4 separate regions of the Homo sapiens genome follow, and all the other regions are linked to region 1. The links are contacts of gene promoters, found by promoter capture Hi-C in blood cells and fetal thymus (Javierre and others, 2016). All regions are on one chromosome and are shown on one strand. The core of a region is centred on a gene start or on the middle of the fragment in contact, and the rest is flanking DNA. Distances in the headings are between cores, read along the strand shown. Region 1 holds the start of CACNA1G (calcium voltage-gated channel subunit alpha1 G). Region 2 overlaps SPAG9 (sperm associated antigen 9). Region 3 holds the start of TOB1 (transducer of ERBB2, 1). Region 4 has its middle 14 kb from the start of WFIKKN2.

What was found. The method cuts DNA at HindIII sites, captures the fragments that hold promoters and counts their contacts. A CHiCAGO score of 5 or more calls a contact.
Region 2: a contact is called between a fragment that was not itself captured here and the fragment with the promoter of CACNA1G in region 1, in 4 of 17 cell types (naive B cells, total B cells, naive CD8 T cells and 1 more). The highest score is 7.9, in naive B cells.
Region 3: a contact is called between a fragment that was not itself captured here and the fragment with the promoter of CACNA1G in region 1, in 1 of 17 cell types (total CD4 T cells). The highest score is 5.3, in total CD4 T cells.
Region 4: a contact is called between a fragment that was not itself captured here and the fragment with the promoter of CACNA1G in region 1, in 6 of 17 cell types (M1 macrophages, M0 macrophages, non-activated CD4 T cells and 3 more). The highest score is 7.5, in M1 macrophages.

The regions. Positions count from the first base shown.
Region 1 is chr17:50,556,580-50,561,964 of GRCh38, forward strand. CACNA1G (calcium voltage-gated channel subunit alpha1 G) reads left to right here and starts at 4,136. Exons shown (of 38, transcript NM_018896.5): 1 at 4,136-5,122. The coding sequence starts at 4,881. It overlaps CACNA1G-AS1 (CACNA1G antisense RNA 1), which reads right to left. Exons shown (of 2, transcript NR_038439.1): 1 at 5,349-5,385; 2 at 1-879. RefSeq lists enhancers at 3,686-3,735, 5,095-5,385 and a silencer at 3,956-4,335. The HindIII fragment of the contact is 9,044 bases long and covers 1-5,385 here.
Region 2 is chr17:50,970,423-50,975,807 of GRCh38, forward strand. SPAG9 (sperm associated antigen 9) reads right to left here. Exons shown (of 30, transcript NM_001130528.3): 28 at 4,349-4,525; 29 at 285-434. Among named protein-coding and RNA genes, the nearest start is that of TOB1-AS1, 110 kb to the left of the region's middle. The HindIII fragment of the contact is 1,984 bases long and covers 2,035-4,018 here.
Region 3 is chr17:50,861,173-50,866,557 of GRCh38, forward strand. TOB1 (transducer of ERBB2, 1) reads right to left here and starts at 5,182. Exons shown (of 2, transcript NM_005749.4): 1 at 4,886-5,182; 2 at 1,051-2,991. The coding sequence starts at 2,845. The coding sequence ends at 1,808. RefSeq lists an enhancer at 3,798-3,847 and silencers at 4,388-4,997, 5,008-5,385. The HindIII fragment of the contact is 1,068 bases long and covers 1,719-2,786 here.
Region 4 is chr17:50,818,832-50,824,216 of GRCh38, forward strand. No RefSeq gene overlaps it. Among named protein-coding and RNA genes, the nearest start is that of WFIKKN2, 14 kb to the right of the region's middle. RefSeq lists an enhancer at 459-518. The HindIII fragment of the contact is 4,047 bases long and covers 222-4,268 here.

The sequences.
Region 1 (5,385 bases), core at 2,886-5,385:
GGGGACTGGGACACATGCTTTGGGAAGGGCAGGTGCAGAGTGATGGGGCTGACGGGGTGGGGGAAGCAGGGGGAGGAGCTGTCCCTCTGAGGCCTTTGGGAATCGGCTGTGCCAGGCATCCTCAGCCCTCCAGCTAAGCAACACAGAGAGCCAAAAGAGGCTACTAGAGACAAGAAGGCCTTCATGGGGCCACTGCTTGTGGGGGATGTCAGCAGTGGGGAGGAGTGAAGCAGGAAGGAACCGGGAGACTGGATGGAATTGCTCCCTTCACACGGTCACACATAGCCACACATGGTCACTGGGACCAGAGTCAGCTCTGTCTGGGCAGCCAGGCCCTCAGTGCAAGCCACCAGCCCATCTGGAGGGGATTAGTGCTCCGGCCAACAAGGTCAGCTGGCCCCTTCCTAGCTGGAGCCTACTCAACCTTGCCAGGAAGTCAGAGAGCTGGACAAGTGGAGCCCAGCCTGGGGAGGTGGAAGAGAGGGAGGATGGAGCATGGTGAAGCACAGGTGGCCTTTTTGGCAGCCCCAGCCCTGGCTTTGGAACAGTCTGGGCAGTGTGCCAACCCCTCTTGCCACTGTCGTCCCATTGACCCTCATGAATGAGTTGCGAAGGCAGTTACCTTCAGCCTCCTATGGATAAATATTCGAGGCCCAGAGAGGGTAAGAGACCTGCCTGCGACCCCTCAGCACTTCTGTTTCTCTCTGGGGTCTTGAGGGTACAATAAAGACCCCTAAGGCTTCCTCTTCTCGCAGGAGGTCCAGGCGCAGCTGTGGGGGAGGGTGCCCTTGGTGTCTTCTGTCCCTGCAGCCAGTCTGCTTTCTACTCGGCAGCTCCTCTCTCCCTCCTGGGATGAGATGTGCACGCGATGATGGGATTCTGTAAATGGGTTGGGAAGAAGGAGTTACCTCCTTAAAGGGTTAGTTCTCCCAGGAGTGCTCGAATTTCTAAAGGGGGCAGGGTCCCACATAAATCTCACTCAGAAGCAGGATTATAAGAGTTCCTGCAGCATCCCTTCCCCTTTGCTGGTCCCTCTTGAGTGTGCACCCTGTTCTACCAGCGGAACACCTGCGGGCCAGGGTCACTGGAGACAGGGCCATACCGTCTGGGCAGTCACTTAAGTAACTTCATCATTCTGAGCACCCCCCTTCCTTATCTGAAAGGTGGGGGGCCATCCACCCAGCTCTCAGGGCTGTTAAGGTGACTAAATGGGATAATGGTTGTATCATCCCTGAGCAAAGGGTATCACAGATGGGAAGATTATCTTAGCTCCGCAGGGAGCCAGATGGGCTGTGAGGGAGGGGTAAAGGCAGGGCTGGAGGGGGCTGGAGGGGCTGGCTGAGCAGGGTATATATGGGGGGGGTTCTTCCTCAAACCCAGAAAAACTCTTAGTTAGGCTTAGTGTCTTTGTTGAGAAACTGAGGCCCAAAGAAAGGAATTTCTTGTCCCTTTGTTTCCCTTTCCCTGCCTGAGGTCATTCATTCACCTAACAACTTTGTGCCCGACACTAGACAAGGCCCTAGTGAGCAAAATGAACATAGCCCCTCTGGGAACACAGAGCCTAGATAGGGAGATGATCATTTCATTACTGCAAACACAAACATATAATCCCAGCCTGGGCTAAGTGCTGTGAAGTTCCAGACTTGTGTCTGGCTCGGTGCTGTATCCTAAGCACCTTGGCACTTAAGTGGCATTGAAATACTTGCTGGAAAGAAGGCCACTCTGAGGAGGTGATGTCAGAGCTGAGGCTTGGAGGGCTGGAGTTAAATAAAGATGGTTTCAGGTCTTCTTTGCCTTCCCTGTAGGTTCTGCCTCTGCCTCCTCTCTGGCACTCAGGCTAAGGGTAAGCATCTCCGACTGGCCATCAGCCCCAACATGCCGAGTACAGGGATCAGATCCTGTCTTGCGTGGCCGGTCTCCCCTAGGTCCTGAACCCAGGGAAGTGCATGTGGATCTCAATTTATCTAGATGGTGCGTTTGTGCCTGCCCTCCTTTCGGGCATGTTCTAGAACAGAGTTCAGTCCAGAGCCCAGGGGTGGCCGGGATGATGGATGAGGGTGTGGGGCCTGCTGACCACCAGGGGACCTGATCATTGGGCTGGGCCAGCCTCTCTGTCCTCATTTTCCCCTCTGCAAAGAAGGGGTGTTGGGCGTCCCTACTTCTCGCGCCAGCCCCGGGGCCTCTATCCTGGCGGGAAGGGCAGGCCGACCCGGCAGACTGCGGCCTCTCGGGAGGGAAGAAGGTGTCAGACGCGCGGAGCAACCATAAATAGCCCCCCTTTCCCAGAAGACGGCACGGGGTTCAAGACTCAGGCGCCGCATACTCAGAATGAGAGCAGAGACTCCCGCCAGGAAAAAAAGGCACTTAGGGGATCTGCTCATTAGCATGAAATGCAAATGAGCCCGCCCGGCCTCATTTACACAACTCTGTGCATGGATTCGGCGAAAGGGCAACCAGGGAGACGACGGCGCAGCAGCCACTCTGCCACTTCCCCCATCCCCTCCCCCCATCGGCCGGGGCGGGAACTGAGACGACCCCAACCCTCTGCGGTGGCGGGAGGTGCGCGGGGGCTGCGTGGGTGGTGCAGCCTTAGGAGAGTGAACAACGCCCAGGGGTGATGGCCTCAGCAAAGTGAGGGGTGGTGATGGAGGTCATCCGACCCATCCCGCCGCCTCTCCGCAGTGGCGCAAGCGCCCCAAAATCTCCGGAGAGGGAACTGACTGACCCACTAGGTTCCGCCGTGTCTACCTCTCGCAGATGTTGGGGAAGTGCTTCCCGGCGTCTAATCCTCGCTGTTCCCCCCTCCACCGGCGCCCAGCACACCCGCGGCGCTCCGCTCCCGGGTACCCACAGCTTTCTGGAGTGGCGCCGGCGGCAGGAGAGAGCTAGAGCCGACTGAGCCCCAGAACTCGGGGAGGTAGGCGGGGCAAGGGCCGGGGTCTGCGCGTGCGTGTGCACGCGTGGAAAGCACAAACCCACGAGGGCCCGCTGCCGGTAGGGTTAAGGTGAGTGAGTGAAGGCGGCAGACCCGCGAAGTTCCAGTTCCGCGGACACTCTTTCCCTAAGCCACATAGGGACTTAAGAGAAACTGAGGCACGAAGTTGGGGGGTGGCGGTGGTGGGGACTTTGAAGGTCGAGTCGATAAAGCCCAGCTCTGTGCTTCCGCCCCCTCCCACACACTCGAGACCCCCACAGGTTCCTTCTTAGGGGTCCTCGCTCTGCTCCGCAGCCCCTCCTGGGGATCCGGGCTCTGCGGTCCAGCGCGACCTGCCTGGGGCCACGTGTTCAAGCACGAAGCCCCTGCGTGGAGTCCACGCCCTTCAAAAGGTCCCTAGGGGCAAAGGGATGAAGCCCAGGAGCGTCAATGTGAGGTCAGGTCCAGCGGGTTAGGGTTACGAGGTCAGGGTCGAAGTCTCAGAATTGACTCGGGAGTATGACCAATAAGCCCAAGAGATTTGTGGAGGCCACGCCCAGACCATGCCTACCCTAGCCTTTCTCGAGCTCCGCCCGTTTCTCCAAGACTGGGCCCCTCCAGCCTGAAGCCCCACCCCCAGGACATCCAGCTCCGCTCCTTCCCTCCCCCAGTCCCGCAGCCAAGCTCAACTCCAGGGTGGGAGATTAACCAGGTGGAGACCTGGGATTTCGCTCTGGGACCCCCTGGTGACAACCCTCACCCCCGTGCCGCCTGTCTCCTTTCTTCCCCAGGCCCGCCCAGAGCTGAGCTCCGTCCTCCGGCTGCTGCCCAAATCAGGGGTCGTGGACAAAGGATGCCTGGGGCCTGCGGCCCTACGCCAGGACCCCGCGCCGAATACTCTGATTCTTCGGGCTCCCTCCAAGGGAGTCCCAAAGACCCCAATGGCCAATAGGAAAGTGGGTTCGGTCTGGGCAGCAGTCTGATTGGCTCCAGCCTTCGGGAGCGGACCCAGGGGCAAGGGGAGGGGAGAGGGGCGGTCCTGGGTTTTGGGGTGGGAATCGGATTCCAGCTGTGGTTCTCTCCCTGCGCTCCCGCCCGCACTGCCACGGCGGACGGCCAATGGGCGCGCGGCTCGGGGCCGGCGGCGTCCGGCGATTGGCTGCGGGGCTGTCTGGGGGCGGGGCCGAGGCTTGAAGTTGAAGTGAGGGATCCAGCTGTGGTGTGCGCGGGGCTCCTCGCCGCCGCTTTCGCTCGCTCGCTCCGCGTCTCGGCCGGAGGAGGAGGCTGTGGCGCCGGCGACAGCTACGGCAGCGGCAGCCACCGCGGCGGCTGCGGCGGCGGCATCTCCGCCTCCACTCCCGCCCGGGACTGCCCCCCACTGTCTCCCCGCCCCTCCCGGACAGTGAGCCCGCGGCGGGGCGGGGGAAGGAGCCGCCCCCACCCCCTCCAAGCCCACCCCTAAAGAGATCCCTCCTCCCCTCCCCCGCCGCCTGGCGCGGAGCCGGGACGATGCTGACCCCTTAGATCCGGCTCCAGCTGCGCCGCGGGAAGAGGGGGCGCCCCTCCCCGGACCCCCGCCCTCCGCCGCTGCCCCCCTTTTCGTTCGCCCTCTCGGGGCGGCTTCGCCGAAGGTAGCGCCGAATCCGGCAACCGGAGCCTGGGCGCGAAGCGAAGAAGCCGGAACAAAGTGAGGGGGAGCCGGCCGGCTGGCCCGGGAAGCCCCAGGGGCGCAGGGGAAGCGGGACTCGCGCCGGGCGGGGTTTCCCTGCGCCCCGGCGCCCCGCGGGCAGCATGCCCCTGCGGGCAGGGGGAGCTGGGCTGAACTGGCCCTCCCGGGGGCTCAGCTTGCGCCCTAGAGCCCACCAGATGTGCCCCCGCCGGGGCCCCCGGGTTGCGTGAGGACACCTCCTCTGAGGGGCGCCGCTTGCCCCTCTCCGGATCGCCCGGGGCCCCGGCTGGCCAGAGGATGGACGAGGAGGAGGATGGAGCGGGCGCCGAGGAGTCGGGACAGCCCCGGAGCTTCATGCGGCTCAACGACCTGTCGGGGGCCGGGGGCCGGCCGGGGCCGGGGTCAGCAGAAAAGGACCCGGGCAGCGCGGACTCCGAGGCGGAGGGGCTGCCGTACCCGGCGCTGGCCCCGGTGGTTTTCTTCTACTTGAGCCAGGACAGCCGCCCGCGGAGCTGGTGTCTCCGCACGGTCTGTAACCCATATCCTTCGGGGCACGACGGCCAGGCGCGGGGTCAGAAGGGGGACGGGCCGCACCGCCGGGGGTCGGGGGGGAAGAAGACCCACCGCCAGGTGAGTCGAAGTGAGCCCGGAGGGTAGGCGGATGGGGGGGGGGCTGCCAGGGAGGGGAGGGGGCACCAGAGTGGGAGCGGAGACGCGAGCAGGTCTCGTCGGTAACCCGGGCTTACCCCACCTGCGTACACACACCTCAGTCTTCCTGGGTTGGGGGGGTGGGGATCCAGGC
Region 2 (5,385 bases), core at 1,777-4,276, 410 kb after region 1:
AGAATCACTTGAACCTGGAGGCAGAGATTGCAGTGAGCTGAGATCATGCCACTGCACTCCAGCCTGGGTGACAGAGTGAGACGTCATCTCAAAAAAAAAAAAAAAAGAAAGAAATACCAAAAAGAAAAAAACAAAAAACAAAAACCCACAAAATCCTTTCGTGTGTAAAGAGCTCAAAGAGAACCTCTTATAAATCATTATCAGAGTGGTTTCTTATTTACTTTGGGACAAAACCCAAGTCATAGCACACAGTGCAAACTGAGCACCCAGAACCAATGACATACCCATTCGGAAGTCGATGTAGCCCTCTCCTCCACTGATGACAAGCATAGACTTCAAGGGCGTCTGACTACCAGGCTCCTGTGCAGATGGCCCTGCTTTGTCACCCGTCAGATCCGTGCCACTACTGCTACTTTGTGGGCTGATGACTTGACCTGTTTTATACAGAAACAAAAGTGAATATTACTTATCACAGAAGGGAGGCTGTTTTGTTTTTTTTTTTTAAGTATTTTTAGAGTTAAACAAAAAGGTAAATATATTCTAATAACCAAATACTGGGGAAGCTAGAAGGCTCTGCATGATCAGAAAACATTTACATGAAGGTTTTAAGAACCCGATTTGAGGTCAGGCATGGTGGCTCACACCTTCGAGAGGCCGAAGTGGGAGAATCACTTGAGGCCAGGAGATTGGGACCAGCCTGGCAAATATAGTAAGGCCTCATCTCTACCAAAAAAGTTAGCCGGGAATGGTGGTATGCGCCTGTAATCCTGGCTTCTTGGGAGGTTGAGGCAGAAAGATCACTTGAGCCCAGGAGTTCAGTGTTGCAGTGAGCTGTGATGCGCCACTGTACTCCAGCCTAGGCAACAGAGCAAGACCTTGCTTCTAAAAAACAAACAAACAAACAAACAAACAAACAAACAAAACCCAATTTGAAAATCTAAGTAAAGCAATTTTGTAACAAAGCAGGAATAGGCCCCAAATCCAATATGAGATATATGCATGGCAAGGTGGGTCTTAGCTGCCTGCTTCAAACTACCTTTTTTTTTTTTTTTTTTTTTTTTTTGAGATGGAGTCTTGCTCTGTCGCCCAGGCTGGAGTGCAGTGGCACAATCTTGGCTCACTGCAACCTCCGCCTCCCGGGTTCAAGCGATTTACCTGCCTCAGCCTCCTGAGTGGCTGGGACTACAGGCACGTGCCACCATGCCCGGCTAACTTTTTCAGTAGAGACAGGGTTTCACCGTGTTAGCCAGGATGGTCTCAATCTCCTGACCTCATGATCTGCCTGCCTCGGCCTCCCAAAGTGCTGGGAATACAGGCATGAGCCACTGCACCTGGCCCAAATTACTTTATTTATTTATTTTTGAGACAGAGTTTCGCTCTTGTGGCCCAGGTTAGAGTGCAATGGCGCGATCTCGGCTCACTGCAACCTTCGCCTCTGGGGTTCAAACAATTCTCTTGCCTCAGCCTCCCAAGTAGTTGCGATTACAGGTGCCTGCCACAACGCCCGGCTAATTTTTGTATTTTAGTAGAGATGGGGTTTCACCAAGTTGGTCAGGCTGGTCTCAAACTCCTGACCTCAAGTGATCCACCCACCTAGGCCTCCCAAAGTGCTGGGATTACAGGCATGAGACACTGTGCCTGGTCTCTTAAAAATTTTTAATGAAGTCTTGCTATGTTTGCCCAGGCTGGTCTCAAACTCCTGGGCTCAAGTGATCCTCCTGCCTTGATTTCCAAGTTGTGGAATTACAGGTGTGAGCCACCATGCACAGCCTACCTGCTTCAAACTATTATAGTCTAAATCTTTTGATCTGAGAAGACAGTGGAAAAGGTCTCTCCCTTGAAAAGGAATGTGCTTATTTGTGTAAGAGACTGAGAAAAGTCTTCAACTTAAGCCCTATGAGTTTGCATAGTCATAATTAACATTTAAATTTATTTCAAATCTATGGCTTTCCTCTCATATTTAAGGAAAATACAGGTTATTTTTAATTTAGATTATGCAAACAAAATTACTAGTAAATGTGCTGTTTGTTCTAAAGCTTAAGTTCTAAGGTAGAATCCTTGAGTGTGAAATAATAGAAAGAGAGAAACCTTTAAATATTATTCACAACTATGAACAAATGAGCAATCTCTAAGCCAACCCTCTTAGCAAGATTTAATTGTGGGATATTTTTTTCCTTGTCAGAATCTGCTGTCCTTTGGTCAAACTACACAGACTGCGCCTCCAGGAGCTAGCTGGACAGCCATTAATGCGACACACTGTAACAAAATTAATGTATGTTGAAAGTGGATAGGATAGTCTGACGTATCCCCACAGGGATTCATTCATGCATTACTCAATTATACTTTGGAAGAAATCAAGCATGCCAGCAATGACTTCTGTTGGTAGACGAGTTAGTTCTGCCACAGAAGCAAGAGCACAGTGGTATTACTGATAAGGCCAACCAGAATGGTTTAATCTTTAGGGCCAACTGGCCTCGCAACAACCATGTTGCTAATTCCACTTTTAGATTTATACCCAACAAAAAATCCTTACACATGCACACAAGAAGGTCTGCTTCAGTATTGTTTTTAATAGTGAAAAAAGAAAGGGGAGAAGCCTAGAGGTCCATCAACAGAAGAATGAATAAAATGTAGCACTTTTATTCAGTTATAATACCAGTTAAATGAATAAACTAGATTTTTATGTATGAACATTGATAAATCTCAAAAAATGAGAAGCAAGTTGTAGAAGCATACATATAAAACACAACATTTAACATGTAAAGTCCAAAACCACAAAACAATCATACATTGTTTATAAACACATTCAAACATAGTAAAAATACAAAAACAGGGGCAAGAGGATTTGCATCGACTTCAAGATAGTGGTTACCAATGGAGAGGAAAAGGAGAGGAGAATGGGATTGGAGAGGGATACAAAGGAGATTTAAAGGAAACTGTGATATTTCATTTTTTTTTAAGCAAGAGAAACACTGTTACCAGCAATCCCATTTCTAGGAAGGAAATGACTATACAAATATATAAAATGTACAAATGAGGTTTCAGAAAGCTCATTATCACTGTTGTTAAGAATAACTGAATAATTGCTTAGGGTACCATATGCCAGCCCTTGCCCCATGTACATAAAATCATTTAATCTTTGGAAGACCCTTGGGAAAATAAGTATGATGAGTAATTTGACGTGTTAGCTCGATACCCAGATATTTGGTCAAACACCAGTCTAGATATCATTGTAAGTCTTTTTTAGATGTGATTAACATTTAAAACAACAGACTTTGAGTAAAGCAGATTACACGCCACAGTGTGGGTGGGCCTCATTTAACCAGTTGAAAGCCTTAGAAGAAAAAGACTGAGGGATCCAGAGGAAAGAGAAATGTTGCCTCCAGACTGCTTTCAGATTTGGACTGCAACATCCACTCTTCCCGGGGTCTCCAGCCTGCCAGCCTGCCCTGCAGATTTCAGACCTGCTAGTCCCCACAACTGTGTGACCCAATTTCTTAACAGTAACTCTCTCTTCATACGCACATACACATGCATCCTATTGGTTCTGTTTCTCTGAAGAACCCTGACTAATATACTACATCACACAGTTAGTTGGTGGGGGAAAGTCAGATCTGAACTTCGTCTAGCTCCTAAACTTGCCTCTTATGGGAAAAAAAAATTCAAAACCTGTGTCCTGCTTACAGATGGTCAGTGACATCACTTAAGTATTGTCAATGGATAATTTGTCATTTTTCACTGGACATCATCACTTCCATCTTTTTTCTGGGTGGTGCTTTATAGCTCCCAGTAGCATTTTCATTAATTTTCATAACAAATGAAGTAGGCAGAGCAGATATTAATCACATCCACCTAGGAGTGAGGAAATGAGTCTCTGAGGTTAAGTGCCTTGCTCGAGGTTAGTGGCAGAGACACAGGGGCCAGACCCCCAGGCCTCCTAGTTCACTGCTTTTTCCTATTAAGCTGCTAAAGGTACCAGAGTGCATTCTCTCTTCCTCCATGCAGCCTTGATGATAGAAGCTTCTTTCTAGTGATTTCTCTTATTAGGTCAAGACCATTTTTGGCAATCCACGATGATAAAATAATACTACTGCTTTTCAAAAGTAAGCAAGTCTCCTAAAGAAAAATCAACAAATTTATCTTTGGGGGTGGGAGAGATATTCCAAAGTAACTTCATTCAAGTATCCCTATAGCACCTTAGTCACACCTCCATTACAGAACTTCCTTCGTATATATTGAAATTACCTGCAATTCGAGTACTTAGCCTTAGACTATTAGGTAGTGGAACCAAGAGATGACAGAAGAGAGACAATTACATGGAACATCTCAACAGAATAATCTAACATACCTGGGACTGCCACAAAGAATTTCACAGCATCCCGGTGCCCATGGAAGCAAAGCTGTGCATGTGCCATTGAACAATAGGGTATAAATGTCCCTGGAGTCACTTTATCACTGTTTTCATCACCATATACACGGATTACACTTCCAGGACGATTTCCTGGTACACCTGAGGTTTTATTTGCTGCAACAGAAAAACCAAATACCAAATATTTTCCCCTAGAAAACAGTAATGAATGTAAGAGGTTACTGGTTAATCCTTATGATATTATCTAAAAGCTACAGCCAGTTGAGATAAAACAAGGATGGCAATGCCAATTCAAGACAAAGCTGGGAAAAAAAGAGATACAGCATGCTAGTTATTTTTAAGTACCTCAGTAAATGGAGTAGGGGATTTTGCCAGTCTAGCAATAAGTAAGCTTATTTTTTAAACACATCTATTCATTTAAAAAATAATTTTAGTTAAAAAAAAAACAAATTTGAATCTTAGTTGTTTCTTGTTTTGTTTTTAATGCACATGTTAGAAAACTAACCATTATACAGTTTAAAGTAAATGGGTATATTTGCAAATAAAGTCTTTCTTTATAGTTTATCTTCTGATTTTTCTCCCTCACAGTAAGAATATTTCCCTTGAGGGGGTTGGTAAAAAGTTGTGCTTACAAGAATCCAGCCACTACAATAGAGCAGCTTTTATTGATACCAGACTGATGGTGTGCTGCGTACTGTAAAAGACCAGACTCACAAAACATCCCCATTCCATGGGCAAGTAAGTAAATGAAAGAAATATGATCGGTAACAAGAGTAAACGATGTAAATTAATGACAGCTTTAAGAGATGTTTCATGTTTATACTGGAAGGAAAACAAAGTCTGAAAGAAAGTTCAGCTGCAACAAAAGATGATAAATAGACTAAGCTGCTGAGCAGTTTGGTGGCCATGTAACAAACATTAAAAAAAAAAAAAAGACACCTGCTGCGATGCAGTGACTGCAAGTGGATAACATTTAGGAACATTCAAGAGGGTATTCTAGAGGAGTGGTAACAGCC
Region 3 (5,385 bases), core at 1,003-3,502, 300 kb after region 1:
TGTTCCCTAAAGAACAAAAGCCTCACCATGGAGCTGACAAACAGCTTAGCTCTGTTATTTCCAGTGCTTGTTTCCTTAAAACTTTGTATTGCTCTACACTGCATGGGTAAATGACAAAAGGCTTTTGTAGACTGGTGTCCAAAAAGCTCATGAGACCAAATTTATTTCACTGGTAACCCAGGCAGTGCTGGTTTCTTACTATAAAAGTACATATAAAGTTTTTTAAGACAGCTTTCTCACCAATACTATGTCAACACTGTATCAAATGGACGTTAACTTTCTCACCAATACTATGTCAATACTGTATCAATTGACATTTAGTGAAATGACTCATTTAGTGTTCTTCTCCCCAACTCTTCAGTTTTAAAAAACTCCATCCTCACCAAGCCACTCCAATTTGATACATTGTCAATATCTCTAAATCCTTCAAACCAGCAGGTTGGGTACCCACTTGCAAAAAATTAAATACATAAGCGTTTTTGCTGGGAAAATGAAAATGCTAACATCTAACCATCTGTCCAGCCGTGAATAGATTTTGACCATAAGTTCTCTAGCTATATGCAATAGCTAAACTTTAAAGATTAGTAAAGTGATGTAAATTTTTCTAAGTTCAGTCAGCCGTTTTGTCCAAGCAAGTTTCCTCAGCAAAAACAGAAAACTGATCCAATGCTCTCTCCATATAAATTTCAAATAAATCATCTCAGATTACACGAAGGAATTTCATCTTATCACCTGACTCCTCCATGTCAGCATGACATTTTGAAACTTGCTGTATAGCTAACCTTACCATACCATCTCTATAATGGGGTAGACAAATGTGGACTGAAGAGGGCTGTTAAAAAATAAAGTTGTACCAAGCACTGGTCAGGCTATAGTTTTGATAGCATTTTTTATGTGGCAAACCACGATCTGGTACATCAGTAGAGCAACTGCTTTCCATTATTCCTTCGTGACTCAATGAGTCAGGCCTTTTTCCATCATTAGCATTTACAACATAATAACTCCAGAGGTCGATCTTCAGAAAACACTTAAAAACAAAGACAATAGGCATTTTTAATTTTAAAGAATTTTAATACAAACTTAATATAAACTATTTCAGTCCCTCTTAACATGTAAGACACTGACTCAAAATACTTTTATACCGTTTTTTTCAAGTATTGCACAATATAGGTACAAAATTAATATTTACGATTACATTTTTCTTCCATAATATATAGCAAAAATCTTTAAACTTTTAACAGAAAATACATTTTTTTGAAAAAGCAAGTATTCGTACATTTTAATTCCACCACTAAAGGAATATCCTGTACACAATTTTTAGAATAGTTGATGTCTTTAAGATGGATATTTTACAATTTCAGTAAAAAAAATACAACATGAAGCTGCTGCTGTCACAGATCACTGTAGTAAAAAGATATAAATGCAATACCATGTCGTAGAAACAATATATATATATCCTCTGATATTTTACAAACTTTGTACTAAATTAAATTATACAATTAGAAAAGACCAATAAACCCACTTATTAGTGCCAATTTTTATAAAAAAAAATCAGCCATGTCCTTGCTATATCTTAAATACTGTAAGAGGCCATATCTGAGAGTATACTTTAAAATATACAGTCAGTATAAAATAACTTTGTGCTTGGTTGGCAAATGAAAAATGATGCATGTTTTATTATTATTTTTTTAACCAAGCTTGAATGTATCCTTACTATAAGCTTAAAAAAAAAAATTCTCAAGGAGGTGAAAAAAAAAATCCCCCTTGGGCCCGTGCATTTTAACTTGTACGATACATTTTCTTTTTTTTAGTTAGCCATAACAGGCTGGAATTGCTGGTTAGAATACTGCATGTTATTTAAGCTAAAATTCAAGCCATCTACAAAAGATTTCTCATTGAGGCCTCCATAGGCTGCAAACACATCAAAGGCATTACTGTACTGGAGAGGACTGAGGTTAAGGGGGCTGTCACCTGGGAACATTCCATTGGTACTACTACCTTGACCCTGCATATTAGGAAAAATAAATTCCTTGGCATTAGGAGAAAGAGCAGAGGTTTTCTGCTGTTGTTGCTGCTGTGGTGGTGGTGGTGGCGGTGGCGGCTGGGCTGGCTGCTGCTGTTGCTGTGGCTGCTGCTGGCTACCCAAGCCAAGCCCATACAGAGAGTGCATTGAGGAAGAGATGGCTTTCTGCTTCAAGAGGTCATTCACATTCAAGCCGAGGTTGATGGGAGAAGTACGTGCAACCTTGTTGCTACGGCCACTATTCTTCATTTTGGTAGAGCCGAACTTGGTGGCAGCAAAAGTGGCAGTGGTAAAGGTTAAAGGCTGAGTGGACCGGGGCATGAAGGTAGGGCTTACAGCAGCAGAGTGACCAAAAGGAGGCGATGGAGAGCTGGACACTGATGAGGCTGGGTCACTTATGGGCATAAAAACCTGGGCCTCTGGGTTAAAGCTGTTTTTGATCTCCTTATCCAACTCACATCCATTTTCATTATTATCATCCACGTAAAGCACCTTCACTGGTCCCTTTTCACCAATTTGGTAAGAAACCTCAAATGGGTCGATCCAAACACTAAGATCCTGTGGCAGATTGCCACGAACATCATCAATGTCCAAACCACTCTCTTTGGATGCTTGTTCAATCACTGGGTCCACTTTCTCCCCTATGTGTATACATCTAAACCCCGATCCTTTGTATGGCTTTTCAGGATACCAGTGCCCTTCATATTTCTTCTTAAGAAGTCTTTCAAGTTCTTCACCAAAAATGTTGACACGTCTCCTGGGAAGCTTATTGTACAAATACGAAATAATAAAATTTAGTGCTACTTGGATTTCAAGCTGCATAGCTGCTACGCCACAAAATTAGGTTTCAACTCCCCCACCAAAAAAAAAAAAAAAAAAAAAAGATGTTCAGTTTGTGGCAGAGAAACAAATTTTCATTCAAAGTGCTGGTATTAGTAGATTATCCTTCACCTTGAGTGATCTTGTTCCTTAAAACAAAAGCAAACATATCCAAATAAGATAAATGTAATATAAGTCCCATGACCTTCCCCCCTCCAAAGTAATTTCACCTTTCAAAATGTCTAAGATCCTGTGTTAGTCTGCTAAGGATAAAAAGAAAAAGAAAATGTCTACTAGGACAGAAAGCCTGAAAACTGTTACTAGCACAAAATAAACATAAAATAGAAAATCGTTTATTAAAGTTTAAAATGACACAGGAAAATGTAGATTTACAAATGAAATAATGCTTTTAAAAACCTGTTTCTGAATAGAGTTCTAAGAAGAAAAATCTCTAGAACATGCATTCTTCTCTCCTCAGTTCTCACAAGAATATTTATTGTACTCAGCATCCTCCCCCCACCCCCATATATATAGATGCCACTTTTAGGTAGTAATTTTTATTGTTATTCACCAACTTAGAAGTGAATCCATGTTTTAGTTTACTTTGGATATATACTGTTTAAATCTGCTCTGTCACTGACATTTAAAAATTTGGTTACGTTAGGAAGATCATTTTAATTTCCATAGTACATGATGCTAAAATTAAAGACACTGAGTACTAAATGAACTTCATCCTAGTAAATAATTATGAACCAAATTATTCTATATAGTTTCGGCCTTAAGTATACTAAGAGCATACAATATAATAAAATCCAGCTTCTCTGGGCCTTTTGTTTTCAATGTGTATTTTTCTAAATCTGAAAATACCTATTCGGCAGCAAGTATAACAAAAGCAAAGACACAAATTAAAACTATTGATTATTCTGTTTAAGGCCAGGGTTTCTGAGTTTTAGTCTGATTTTAAAAAACCTCCGTCTGTCCCTCTCTCCCTCCCTCCCTCTCACGGTAACAGCCGGAGAGGCAAGTATGGTAAGGTCGACCTTTAAACGTTTGCTGGATCAGCACTGGGTGGGGATAAGAAAAGATCAAGGGCAAACAGAAGATATTTGCGAAAGGGATCTATTTGCACACTGAAGTTGATTTAAAAGTACGTTTAAAAATCAAGTTGGTCTTAATTCGTCTGTTCTATTTTCCATATTCGTGGTGACAAAGGGAAAAAGAATCTCTGGCTGCCCCCAAACTACAAACACTTTCCAAGTCAAAAGCCTGAGTGCCGGCAGAGGCAGCTGATTAAGCCCAATTGCTTGAAGGTGCAGCCGAGCGAAATTCAGGCTCGGTGGAAGGTAGTTACAAAGCAACGCCTTAAGACAGGCAGGAGTGTGAAGAATTACATAAACAGCCAGTTAGATCTCATTAGATTTCTGCTCACAGCCCTCGGAGCCCAAGCGCTACAGCAGCAGCAACAGCAAGAGGAGGTGGAGGTGGAGGAGGAAGAGAGTACGAGCCTCCTCGGAGAAGGAGGAGGAAGGCCCGGGAAATGGAAGAGCAACCTCTCCCGGCTGGGCACCCAGCACCGAGCAGGTCGGGGCGCCGGGTCAGCCGCTCCCCTCCCCCGCCGTAACCCGACCCGCTGCTCCCCGCCCCGTGGCCCCCGCCCCGGGCTCCTGGGAGCCGGCCAGAGCCTGGGGGAGCACCGGTTCCTCGGCACCATTTTCAGCCTCGCGGCCACCGGCCCCTCGAACCCCAGCGTTCCACCGCGAGCTCGTCGCTCCTCCGGGCACCCCAACCCCCCAATTCCCGTCAGCTCGCCCCGGGCCGCCCGTCCCCGGCCAACTGCCCAGGACGAGCCCGACGCGCCGGCGGCCCCTCGGAGCCGCTCCCCTCGGGTCCTGGCGCTGCCCCCTCGGCGCCCAGGGCCGCGACCCCGCCGTCCCCGAGCTCCCGAGGGCCCAGGGCTCGACGCCGCTGCAGCCCCTCCTCCGCCGCCTGGGCCCGGGGCTCCCGTCTCCTCGCCGACCCCGCCCGGCGCCCCGAGATACTTACGGGCTGCTTCGGGGCGGCTTGGACCACAGACCCGCGGCTGGGCGGGGAGCAGCGCGGCAGGGCGGGGGCGCGGGAGGGTCGGGAGCGGCGAGCTCGCCGAGTGCAAGACGTTGCCGCTGCGGGGCTGAGGACAGAGGACAGAGGCCTCGGGCAGGCCTTGGGAGATCGCCGTTAGTGGCTCGGGGTGGCGGGCACGGGGGTCAGACGAGCGCGCTCACTTCTCCACACAGCCCGGTGCCCGGCCCAGCGTCCCCGTAGTGCGCCCGCTACACGCCGGGCCAGAGCTTCGCTCCTTCTGCCGCGGCGCGCGCCCCGCCTCTCGTTTTATGGCCTCCTCCCCGCCCCCATCCCCTCCGTCGGGGTGCGCGCGCCCGCTCCGCGTCACACAGCTCCGGCGGCGCAGCCATTCCCCGCGCTCCCCGCCCGGCACCCCGGTCCCCCGCCGGCCGGCTCCGCCCCTGCCCTGCCCCCCGACGCCATTGGCCAAGTCCCGCCTGCCC
Region 4 (5,385 bases), core at 995-3,494, 260 kb after region 1:
TAGTGGAGATGGCATTTCACCATGTTGGCCAGGCTGGTCTCGAACTCCTGACCTCAAGTGATCCACCCACCTTGGCCTCCCAAAGTGCTGGGATTACAGGCATGAGTCACTACACGCCTGGCCACCTAGGAGCTTCTTAAATCTACCACACATGGCAACCACTCTGGCAACTGATATATTAACTGTTTGGGGCTAGGGTGCAATGTCTGGGTGGAAGGGGAAGCTTCTGTAAAGGAGATGAAGAAGAAGCTACCAGGGAAGTGGGTAGAAAGCCAGGAGAAAAAAGGTCACAACACAGATGTAGGGGGAGAGTGGTCAGGAAGGAGGATGTGGTCAACAGGTCACAAGCTGCAGAAAGGCAAGAAAACGAGGACTGGTTGTGTCATTTAGGGCCATGGTAGTCACTAGCAGCAGGTGACTTTAGCAGCAGGTGACTTTAGCAGCAGGCTTGTCAGCAAAGTAACGTGTGGGAGGCTGGATCACAGAGTTCAGGAGAATGAGTTCAGGGACTTGGGAGGTGAGAAAATGGAGCCAGGATGCGGACTGACTTGGAAGGTAGAAAGAGGCAGGGCTGTTCATGGAGGGGGAATACGGGGTGGAAGGAATGATGTAATGATCTGTTGAGGATAAGAGAGACATGAATGTGTATAAAGGTGGCAGGTATTTGGGAGACAGAAGGCGTAATTGATGGTATAAAGTTCCTAAGGAGGTGGAAAGAAAGGGAAGTGTTGGGATCCAACACATTGTTGGCAGCATTGACCTTAAATAGGAGGGACACCTCCTCAGTTGTAACAGGGTGGAAGGTGGAGAGGGTGTGGTGGGGGCAGGGTGGCTCATTTTACTTGGTGGGGGTCAAGAACATCCATCACTCAGAATTTACTCATGAATGCGGTGACTGGATTTTCAGAGGCACGTGGCCTTGATAGAGGCCTCTCTCTACGTCCTCTCTTTCTTTCACGTCTCCCTCGTGGCAGCCAGACCTGGAGGCACTGTCCCAGTGATGAGTTAGCTGGGGGAGTGTAGGGGCTGGCCACCCTTTCTTTCTGGCCCATCTTCTCCACCTGTGGCAGGACCCTTGGGGAAGGAAGCTGGAAGGTTGAAGCCTGGCCTAAGCCTAAGCCCCAGGGTTCATCAGGGTCTACTATACTAAGGGTCTCTGCATTGGGGGCAGGGCTCAGGCACCAAGATGACTCCCTCCCTGAGAAACCCCAGAGGGAAGGGGATACTCGGGCATTGAGCCCTCACTCCAGCACCCTAACACCTTCTACCCTCAGTGGTGGGGTCTTTGCCTTTCTGATCCTCATGTACCTGAGGCCACAGTGGGCAGGTTGTACCTGCCCTGTGCCCTGCAGGCACAAAGGGGCTGGCTCCCTTGCATGGGCCCCCTCTTTATCCTCCAATTCCCTCCTGTTTTCCTTCTGCTGACTCAGAGTTAGGAACAGAGCCTCTCCAAACTTTGGGAAGCACCTCTCCTGCCATCTACCATGGTGTCTGACTGCTGGACTTAGGGAGAGAAGCGCCTTCCCCCCGGCTCCTCACTGGCAGAAAGTCCTCCTGGTGGCTCCCGATGAATGAGCCTGGCCCATTTTCTGCCCATCCTCTGTACCCAGCAGTGCCCCCAATCATTCCACCATGAAATGTGCAGTAGCTTTCTATCCCTCAACTATTTCATGCTCACTTGGCCCAAATGCGGACAGTCATGGGTTCTTCTGCTTTTGATATGGAAACGCTGGGAAGGGAAGAGCGTGGTCCCTTTAAATGATACGGAACAGCGCAAGGGAAATGTTGGGTAGAGGAAGGTTGTGCTCCCTGGCGAGGGCTCCACCCTCGTGGACCTAGGTTAGGACAGGCACTCCTGCTTTTGCACCCAAATGTTGCATTTCCCAAGACCACCCTGTCCTGCCACACCCCCATCCTGTGCCTATAAAAACCCGAGACCCTAGCAGGGCAGAGACAGAAGCGGCTGGACATCTAGAGGAGTATATTGGCGGTGGGACACACAGGCGGCTGGATGTCAAGAGGAACGCACTGGCACCGGCATCGGCATGCCAGCAGGCCACTGACCAGCAGAAGGACGCAGAGTTTGGCTGGGGCAGTTGGAGGAGAGCCTGGGACACCAAGCGGCCCAACTCCAGAGGAAAACCATCTCCCTTCTGGCTCCCCCATCTGCTGAGAGCTACTTCCACTCAATAAAACCTTGCACTCATTCTCCAAGCCCACGTGTGATCTGATTCTTCTGGTACACCAAGGCAAGAAACCCTGGGATACAGAAAACCCTCTGTCCTAGTGACAAAGTAGTGGGTCTAATTGAGCTGACTAACCCAAGCTGCCTACAGATGGCAAAACTGAAAGAGCACCCTGTAACACACGCTCACTGGAGCTTCAGCTGTAAACATTCACCCCTTGACACTGCCGTGGGGTCAGAGCCCCACAGCCTGCCCATCTGTATGTTCCCCTAGAAGTTTGAGCAGCAGGGCACTGAAGAAGCGAGCCATACCCCCATCGCACACCATCTGAGGGGGACAAAGGAACCTTTCCCGTGAGACTTTTTTTTTTTTTTTTTTTGAGACGGAGTCTCACTCTGTCGCCCAGGCTGGAGTGCAGTGGCGCGATCTCGGCTCACTGCAACTCCTGCCTCCCAAGTTCAAGCGATTCTCCTGCCTCAGCCTCCTGAGTAGCTGGGACTACAGGTGCTCGCCACCACACCTGGCTAATTTTTGTATATTAGTAGAGACAGGGTTTCACCATATTGCCAGGCTGGTCTCAAACTCCTGACCTCATGATCCGCCCACCTTGGCCTCCCAAAATGCTGGGATTACAGGCGTGAGCCACCACGCCCAGCCTCCTGTGAGACTTTCAGTCTGCTTGCTGCAAGCTAGAGCAGTGACTAATATATATTTTCTGTGGTCTACCTCTTCACTTAGCTACATACTGTTTTGTTGTTTCCCTCAAATCGCCACTCCCAAGATCAACCCAAAACAGAGTTCAAAGTGCAAAGCAAGCCTTTCTGAAATAGAAGGCAAAAATCAAAGCCTCCTTCCTGGTGGTGGTGTAGGCATGGGTGAGAGATTCTACCCTCTGAGTCCCACTTGGACTTGTGTGGACTCCCTCCTCTCCAGCCACCCTGGCTGTCTTCCAGTTCCTCCAATGCTCTGTGCCACCTCCCATCTCACAGCCTTTGCATATACTGTCCCCTCTTTGTCCAGCTAACTATGATTTATCCTTCAGGTCTCAGTATTGATGTCACTTCTTCTAGAAGCCCTTACCTGACCTTGCTTTTAATGGGAAATAGGGCTTTTACCCTCTAATGCTGTTCCCCTAGAATCTGAGCTGGCCACATATTTGAAGTCTACTCCAGCCAACATTATGGTCTGGATCATAATCATGGTCTGTTTGCTTAGAGGCTACTGATGGTGCTTTCCTCTAAGCCCACACTCAAGACCCCTGTCATGAGCATTGCTAAGGGCACAGGCTTTGAGAAGAGCCCCAGATGTTCTATCTTATATCCTAAAGAGAATTCTGGCAGGATTCTTGTCTCTGCCTCCTGATTCGTCATGAGCAGTGAAGCTGAGCAGCTGAAACTGGTTTCCACCACAGTTCCCTCATGTCTATTCCATTTGTATATTGCTCTACATTTTATTTTTTGTTTTTAAATAAATTTAAAAGAATTTTATTTTTATTTTTATTTATTATTTTTTTTTGTAGAGACAAGGGTTTCGCTATGTTGCCCAGGCTGGTCTCAAACTCTGGGCTCAAGTGATCCTCCTGCCTTGACCTCTCAAAGTGTTGGGATTGCAGGCGTGAGCCACTGCATCCAGCCTGTATATTGCTCTGTAACAAACTATCCCAAAAGTTAGTGTATAAAACATTTTATTTGCTCATGATCCTATGGATCCGAAGTTTGGGCAGAGTTCAGCTGGGCTGTTCTTCTGCTCTATGTGATGTTAGGTTGGTGCAAAAGTAATTGTGGTTTTTGCCATTACTTTTAATGGCAAAAATATTAGGGATCATTCATTCAACTACCTTATAGGAATCATTCATTTAACTACATAGCTGGTAGCTGGGCTAGGCTGGAAGGTCCAAGAAAATGCATTCACTTGTCTGGTATCTTGGTGCCCCTTCATGGATCCACTAAGTATTTCTGTCTACGTGGCTAGCTGGGACTTCCTCATGACATGGTGGTCTTAGGGTAGCTGGACTTCTTACACAGTGCTGGCTTCTAAAGGAAACCTTCAAAGAGGGGCAAATGTGGAAGTCATGATCTTTAAAGCTTGACTTGGAAGTTATACTTCTGTTACATTCTGTTGGCCAAAGTCAATAGGACCAGCCAGGTTGAAGGAAAGCCCATCTCTCTACTGAGGGAGCGGCAAAGAATTTGTGGCCATCTTTAATCCACCAGGATGCCTCATTTGGCACAGTTGAACCAGAGATGAGAGCCTCAGGCTGCATTTGGAAGATCTTCCCATAGGAACACTCCCAGGGCTTATCCATAATTGCTTACTTTAAGGCTCGGAATTCTAACTTGAGTGCATGCCTTGTGGTCTGACCTATTCCTAGGCAAAGCAATGGCTTTCCCCTATCACCATCTTTATCTCATACATCTTATAACCCTTAAAACTGGTGTTCATGTGGAGAGTAAATAGTTTGGAGGCATCACCAAATACCAGCATGGGAGCATGAATCGGGCAACTCATGAAGACCTCAAACTCCTACTAAGGGCTTCCAACCACCAACATTGCTTCCACTCACAGTTTATGGGCCAGAACTAGTTACATGGCTTCAACCTAACTGCAAGGAAGGCTGGGAAATGTAGGGAGCACATGGGATGGTTGGAGTGCACAAATGGCCTCTGCCACATCTTCTCTTCCTGCCTTTGAATGTTGTCATGTGAGCACTTCCAGTGATGGCAGCCATCTTGTGACCATGAGGAGAAGGTCAAGAGAATTCCAGGAAGGCTGACCTGAAGCCCTAGTGTTGTTGAGCTGCTGAACCAGCCGTGGTACTGCCCATTCTTGGACCCCTTGACATGTGAGATACCTTGGGTGGGTGTTCCATTACTGTTTTTGCAGCCAAAAGAAACTCAATGGATGTAATGGTGAATGCTTTTAAGAAAATAAAACAGGGTGGAGTGTCATGTGACTTGGGGAGAGGGTGGCAAAAATCTAGGCGTGAGTGTGTGTGTAACAATGGACAAGGAAGTGAGGGAAGTCTTTGAATGAATAGAAAACACCATCATGGGAAGAGCTCTTTGGGCAGAAAGGACACATTACAAAGACCCTGAGGTGGCTGGGTGTGGTGGCTTACGCCTGTAATCCCAGCACTTTGGGAGGCCGAGGCGGGTGGATCACAAGATCAGGAGATCAAGACCATCCTGGCCAACATGGT